Regions from separate parts of the Homo sapiens genome. Here region 1 is linked to region 2. The links are contacts of gene promoters, found by promoter capture Hi-C in blood cells and fetal thymus (Javierre and others, 2016). All regions are on one chromosome and are shown on one strand. The core of a region is centred on a gene start or on the middle of the fragment in contact, and the rest is flanking DNA. Distances in the headings are between cores, read along the strand shown.

The links. Contacts are between HindIII fragments. The CHiCAGO score rates a contact against its expected background, and 5 or more counts as called.
Region 1: a contact is called between a fragment that was not itself captured here and the fragment with the promoter of SLC25A53 in region 2, in 1 of 17 cell types (total B cells). The highest score is 5.9, in total B cells.

Annotation. Positions count from the first base shown.
Region 1 is chrX:103,931,416-103,935,047 of GRCh38, forward strand. It overlaps a transcript of TMSB15B not described here. Among named protein-coding and RNA genes, the nearest start is that of TMSB15B-AS1, 14 kb to the left of the region's middle. The HindIII fragment of the contact is 663 bases long and covers 1,140-1,802 here.
Region 2 is chrX:104,155,268-104,159,223 of GRCh38, forward strand. SLC25A53 (solute carrier family 25 member 53) reads right to left here and starts at 1,742. Exons shown (of 2, transcript NM_001012755.5): 1 at 1,611-1,742. It also overlaps a transcript of FAM199X not described here. RefSeq lists an enhancer at 1,516-1,815. The HindIII fragment of the contact is 6,927 bases long and covers 1-1,952 here.

The sequences.
Region 1 (3,632 bases), core at 221-2,720, 220 kb before region 2:
CTATTATTAATGTTTCTCCCCATTTGCTTTATTATTTAAGTGTGCACTCTGTCTATACACACACAGGATATTTTTTCCCTGAACTGTGAATTGCATACATCAATTTTCAGTATTCCTCGATTCAATGTTTGCAAATCCAAATTCTTTTAAAAAAGACTGTGTTTTATCTCTATGACAATGGAACCGTTATTGCAGAATATTATAAAATGAAAAGTCACATGGTATATGTGATACTGTGAAATATATATTTGCTCTTCGATCCTGTTTCCTGGCATGCAACTCTTAAAATCCTTAGAATTTCCAAAGTGATATCTTTTTGTATGCTAATAATTGACTGATGGCTGGCAGCCTCTGGTTGCTTCAGGATGGGAACTAGTCACCAGAGAGACCAAGGCGCCATTAGAGGGTTGGGACTTAACAGCCTCATTCCCGACCTCCAGGGAGGGGAGAGGGGTGGAAGGTTAAGTCGATCACCAGTGGCCAATGATTTAATCAATCATACCTATGTAATGGAGCTTCCATAAAATCCCCAAGGAACTGGGTTTGGTTAGCTTCCAGATAGCTGAATATATGGAGGTTCCTGGAGGGTGGTGACCCAAGGAGGGCATGGAAGCTCTGAGCCCCTTCCCCAGTACCTCACCCTATGCATCTCTTCATCTCTATCCTTTGCAATATCCTTTATAATAAACTGGTCAACGTTAGGTATTTCCCTGAGTTCTGTGAGCCTTTCTGACAAATTAATCAAACCCAAAGAGGGGGTCATGTGAACCGAAACTTGAAGCCCATCTGTCAGAAGTTCTGGAGGACTGGATTTGCGACTGGTGTCTGAAGGGCCTGGGAACAGTCTTGTGAGACCTAGTCCTCAGCTTGTGGGATATGACGCTATCTCCAGGTAGATTTGTGTCAGAATTGAATTGGAGTACACCCAGCTGGTGTTTGCTGCAGAACTGATTGCTCACTTAGTGTGTGGGAAAACCCCACACATTTGAACATGGAAATATTCTTTGTTGATTGCCGTGATGTGAAAGCAAAGGAAAAAGTTTGTGTGTTTTCCCCTCAGAGCATATTTTAAAGCTAAGTTGCTAATAATTGCTTAAATTTACTATATTTGCCTTTATAAAAACTTTATGTATGTTTAAAGCTTGAAGCTATTCAATTATAATATAAACGTGGATTTACAACTGAAGCATGTTATAATTTAAATAATTGAGTTTTACAAATTGGTTCATATAAAATCCTAGGCAATACTGTAAAATTATACAGACTTGTCAACTTTTTCCACTTAAATCTTCTGAGCAAAATTTAAGGGTGTAGTAGTTTTCAAGTAATTTCAAATGTCAATATTAATATTTAGTTTTGTGATGTTTATGTGGGCATATTTTCTGATATAAAAAATGACTTTTAGGAGTTGAGATCAATAAAATAAGGAGGTAATAAATACCTACATCTGTTTAAAGACATAAAATATACAATTTAACACTAAAGCTACTTGGTATAAAAAGTCAAAAGAAAAAGAATAAAAAGCCATCACAAAACACAATATATGCATGATATATATTTTTGTCTAAATATAAGCTACATCAGCTTTTCTAGAGCTCAAGTTGAAATAATAAATAACTAATGTTTTATGACAAATCATTATATGGTTTATTTAGACAATTTTGCTTTTACAACTTATTTTTAAACATTAAATAGCATTATAATTTTACTGGGATAATGACATATAGTGTAGTACATTAAAGTTATATATAAAATAATGTTGCATATGAGAGAAAAAGCATAATAAATCAGAAACTATAAAAAGCTTTCATAAAATAATAGGATAAAAATACTGTATTTCTCTAGTCTGTTCACTCTCCAATGTCTCTGGTTCTTTCATATCATCTTTCTTCCCTCAAATCTTTTAATATACCCTCCCTCATCATTTCCAACTAGTGACCTTGCTTTCTATTTCTTTAAGAAAAGAGATACGCTCAGACGAGAATTGCCAGTTTAAAGAACATTTTTAAAGCTATCACCCATGTAATAACTAGCCCGGGCAAGAAATAGAGCCCTTTAATAACCTACTCCTCTCCCCCCGCCAATGATGATATCCCTTCTTCCATCTTAGGGTTAGCCCCCATGCTGACTTTTGTGATAATCATTTCTTTGCTTTTGTTTATAGGTTTTCTTCCTTATAAGCATCCCTAACCAACAGTTTTGTTTTACAGATGTTTGAACATTATATACTTTATAAACTTGGAATTGTGACTATCTTGTTTCACTCCACATTGCTTGTGATACTCATCGATATTGCAGATAGCTGTAGTTGATCCATTTTTATTGTTGTACAGTTTACCATTGTACCATAATTTATTCATGATAAGTTTGAGGGTCATTCTGGTTGTTTGCAGGGTTTTCTTTTCTTTCTTTTTCTCTCTTTTTTTTTTTTTTACAATTCATTCGTTTTATTGATGCATAATAATTGTATATGTTTCTGGGGTACATTTGATATTTTGATACATGCGTACAATATGTAATGGTCAAATCAAGGTAATTGGGATATCCGTCAGCTCAAATTTATCATTTCTTTGTGTGGGAAACATTCCAAATCTCTTCTAGCTATTTTGAAATACACAATAAATTGAATACTATGGTCACTCTGTTGTGCTATTGAACGCAGAACTTATTCCTTCTCTCTAACTCTATTTTTGCACCCATTAACCAATCTCTCTTCATTCGCCCCTCTGCAGGACCCTTCCCAGCCTCTGTTAACCACAGTTCTACTCTCCACCACCTTGAGATCAACTTTTTTAGCTCTCCCATATGAGTGAGGACATGTGATATTTGCCTTTCTGTGCCTGGATTATTTCACTTCACATTTCACTTCACATAATGTCCTCTGAGCACATCTATGTTGCCAGAAATGACAGGATTGCATTAGTTTTTTTTTTTTATTATTGTACTTTAAGTTCTGGGATACATGTGCAGAACCTGCAGGTTTGTAACGTAGGTGTACATGTGCCATAGTGGTTTGCTGCACACATCAATCCGTCATCTACATTAGGTATTTCTCCTAATGCTATCCCTCCCCTTGCCCCCCGCTCCCAGACAGGCCCCAGTGTGTGATGTTCCCCTCCCTGTGCCCATATGTTCTCATTGTTCAACTCCCACTTATGAGTGAGAGCGTGCAGTGTTTGGTTTTCTGTTCCTGTATTAGTTTGCTGAGAATGATGGTTTCCAGCTTCATCCATGTCCCTGCAAAAGACATTAACTCATTCTTTTTTATGGCTGCATATTATTCCATGGTGTATATATGCCACATTTTCTTTATCCAGTCTGTCATTGATGGGTATTTGGGTTGGTTCCGAGTCTTTGCTATTGTGAATAGTGCTGCAGTAAACATACGTGTGCATGTGTCTTTGAAGTAGAATGATGTATAATCCTTTGGGTATATACCCAGTAATGAGATTGCTGAGTCAAATGGTATTTCTAGTTCTAGATCCTTGAGGAATCACCATACTTTCTTCCACAATGGTTGAACTAATTTATACACCCACCAACAGTGTAAAAGCATTCCTATTTCTCCACATCCTGTCCAGCATCTGTTGTTTCTTGACTTTTTAATGTTCGCCACTCTAACTGGCGTGAGA
Region 2 (3,956 bases), core at 492-2,991:
CAGGAGATATTCTTTCCAATTTATTGTCAGCTCCGTTTAGACCTATAGTTCTCCAAGTATGGCCCCATGTCCAGGAGTATCAGCATCTCCTGGGAACTAGTTAGAAATGTAAATTCGGGGGTCCACTCCTGACCAACTGTAGGGGCAACTCTGTGGATGGGACCTAGCAATCTTGGTTTTAAGAAACGCTCCATCTGATTCTGATTCACAGGAAAGTTTGAGAGCCACTGACTTAGACTGCTATACTGTTGTTTCTCTGGTAAACAAAGAGGCTTCTTTTCTTGTTCAGAGAAATATTGCTTAGGATTTCTGGTGGGTGCACAATTCCCTGCTGTGAACCGAGTTTGCTGGAAAACCAAGTAACTAGCACCTCCATCGTAGTCCTACCCAGAGCTTGCAGGCTTTGCACTCACGTAAGACTGATTCTTCCAGAGGCGCCTGGAAGTCCCATTGTGATGGGCAAATGCTCTTACCAGAAATAAACTAGTTGTGGGGACCGGGCGCGGTGGCTCATGCCTGTAATACCAGCACTTTGGGAGGCCGAGGCAGGCGGATCACTTGAGGTCAGGAGTTCGAGGCCAACCTGGCCAACATGGTAAAACCCCGTCTCTACTAAAAATATAAAAATATAAAAATTAGCCGGGAGTGGTGGTGGGTGCCTCTAATCCCAGCAACCCGGGAGGCTGAGGCAGGAGAATCACTTGAACCCGGCAGACGGAGGTTGCAGTGAGCGGAGATCACGCCACTGCATTCCAGCCTGGGCGACAGAAGTAGAGAGACTCCTTATCAAAAAAAAAAAAAAGAAAGAAAGAAAGAAAAAAAAAAAGAAATACACTAATTTTGGGCCTTAAATGCTACTCAGTTCTCCAGTTCACCTCAACAGGGAGGGAAGGTGCTTGGAGGAAAATTGCACTTCGTTTTTGCCCTGCTTATTTTGTCTTCAAAATATATGTTAAATCACCGCATCAAAGAGCCGTCCCAGATCTCAACTCCCAGATGAGTTCGGTGGCACCCAATAGATTTTCATAACACAGGATCTATCTCTGTCTCCTTGTATTGTAATAGCCTGTCTCCAAATGCAGATAGCAACCGGCAGGCTGTAAATGTCGAGGAAAAAGCCTAATTCCTTTCCTCATCCGGAGCCTCTAGTGCAGTACCCAGCACAGAGCAGGTACTTGGTATTTTGGTAAGGGAAATCAATCAACGCATCAATAGCAGAATCTGAAACCAGGGACCTAGATCTTTCCAATAAAATCATCCTGCTGAGATGTGACTCAGATGTACTGGTGCCCAGCAGACAACACGTTTTCGCCCTGATTTTATCCTCCATTCATCCGTCCGCCCCCTCCCCCATAGACCCCGCCTGTCCCCAGCTAAAAATAATGAGGGGATTCACACATCTCAGTGTCAACACACACAACACAGTTGACACGCCCCTTAATCCTACAGCTACGCCATCAATTCTCGCCGCCGGGTCCGTCCGCTTGTCAGTTTCCCCTACTCCTCATCCCCTCGCAACTTCTGATCCCCTATCACTTCCGTTCCCGTTTGCCTGCTAGGCTGGAAGCAGGATGTGTCTACGCCCTCAGCCCATAAGAAGTGCTACAAACCTCCGCCTCGCTCGCTGTCATGGCGGCGACCGACGGCCCCTTTCCTGTGGCCTCAGAAAGCAGCGACAGTCGCAGTCACCGGACCTTCGCCCATCCGCCGCCCTCACTTAAGCGACGCACAACGGAGCTCCCACAATCCTCTTTGCTTCCGCTCTCTTTATTTCCGCCTCCCCCGCCCCCGCCTCGACATTAACCGTTTCGCGACTACGTCAGTTGGCCGGTCTGTTTGGGAGAGCCAGGCGACTAATCTGGTATAGAGACCGAAAAACACAGGTAAAAAGACCTAAAAGACTTAGTCATCTATTGGAACATTTCCCCAGTTTGTTTGTAAGTTGGCTTGCAAGCTTATCAGTCATTCTCAAACAGGAGCTTAACTTACTTAGGTGAACAGTTCATGATGACGCCTTTAAGCTGCTAGACCAACCCAAACTCCGAATTTGCAGTTTCTGACCTTTCACCTTGAACCTGTGCCCTTTCTACCCTCTATTCTCCATCTCCTTTTGGTTCTTGTCTGACTCTTTAGCTGCATATGTAAAGAGCACAGACTTTGAAACCTGAGCTCCCGCGTTCGAATCCCCACTGTACCACTATCTAAACATGGCATCTTGGGCAAGTGATTCAAGCATGCTATTCCTTGGCTTTTTCATCTGTAGAATTGGTATAATAATAGTACTTACCTCCAGAGTTGCAGTAAAAATATTAAAATTTCACATGTGAGGAGCACCTAGAACATTGCCTATCATGAAGTTAAGCAGTATATTGAAATATAAATTATAATGATTGAATTTGATCTCACCTAAGACCTCTGGCTAATAAATAATAAATGATAATAATCATTTCACCTGGGATAGAGGGGATTGCCCTGTTCTCTCCAGGCTGAGGCTGTAATACCTGATTCTAGGGACTGCTGATATGGAAATTACTACCACTCTGGCTGGAGTCAGAAGAGTATATTAAAGAGTCTCTTTGTACTGTCCTAAAATAAGCAAAATCCAACGTTTGCAGTTCTATGGACCACGCACTATGATAAGTGCTTTAAACCCATTTTGTTGTTATTGCTTCATCCTCACAATAGCCCTTTGCTGGTTCTTAAGTGTATTACCCTTTCCTGTCCTCTTTGTCTGCTTAAAGCAGCTAAGAAAACTCAGATTAGTCAGATTGCATATAAATCAATAACTTGCCCACGGTCACAGAGCTAATAACAAATAGAGCCAAGACTTAAACTCAGATACATTCAGATGTGTCTTGGTATTTCTCAAATATCACTGAGAAAAAGGCCACCATAAATTCTTTTCAAGTGCTCTCTCTCCCCCAACTCCCCACCCCAAGAATTGCCTGAATGCCCATACAGAAAGACTAGGTTCTCTTCAGAAGCAGAAGGGCAGAACCCACTAAGGCAAAGATCTCTCCCTTGAAGGCTGGCAGCCAAGGAGGTGACTATAGTAGGAATTGGCATAACCAGCTCACTCATTGCCCTCCACTGTGCCACACAGGCCCCATTACTTCCTATAGTACTGAAGACCACTGGGGATAAAGGTACAGGGCCTTCACCTCATCCCACCGTTCTGTAAAGCTTGGATATTAGCAAAGATCTTGCTTATTTTAGGACAGTACAATGAGACTCTTTAATATACTCATCTGACTCCACCCAGAGTGGTAGTAGTAATTTCCATATCAGCAGTCCCTAGAGTCAGGAATTACTGCCTCAGCCTGGAGAGAACAAACCAATCCCCTCTGTCCCAGGTTAAAACAAAACAGGAATTCCCTCTGTTCCTTCAGAATGTACGGTACCCAGGATGTTGTTATTCTTGCTCCACACCTACCCACTCTCACTTCCCAACTTATCATCAGGCAGTCCACAATGGTTTTTTCAGGGGAAGGATTGGTGATGGTGAAGGGACTGAAGGAGAAGGTAAATCACCAGGTTTGCTGAAGGTAAATGAAGCACTGCCTTGTCCCTACCTCTGTACCTCTTTTGTAGCTCCCTGACCTTCTTTCTCATTTGGCATTTCAGAACCCATCACTCCACACCTAGGAAACCCTCTTGGGTTTGAATTGCAGACAAATCATCTTGTCTTTTATTTTTTCCCCCAACACCCAACGATAGCACACATGTCTGGGCTTGGCCAAATTTAAAAACAAAAATAACAGAGGTAGCACGGAAAGACTTTTTACTTAATTTTCTCCATTATTTCTAGCTGTCAAACTATTAGAAAGTGTCAGTGTAAGGGGTAGAGCTGTGAGAAGTCGAGTTTCAGAGGCGAGGAAAGAGAAAAATCCTGATGCAAAGCAAAAGTGTTGGCAGAGGAAAGACGAGCCAACAAGAGTGTCTCTAGGGCCGGTAGA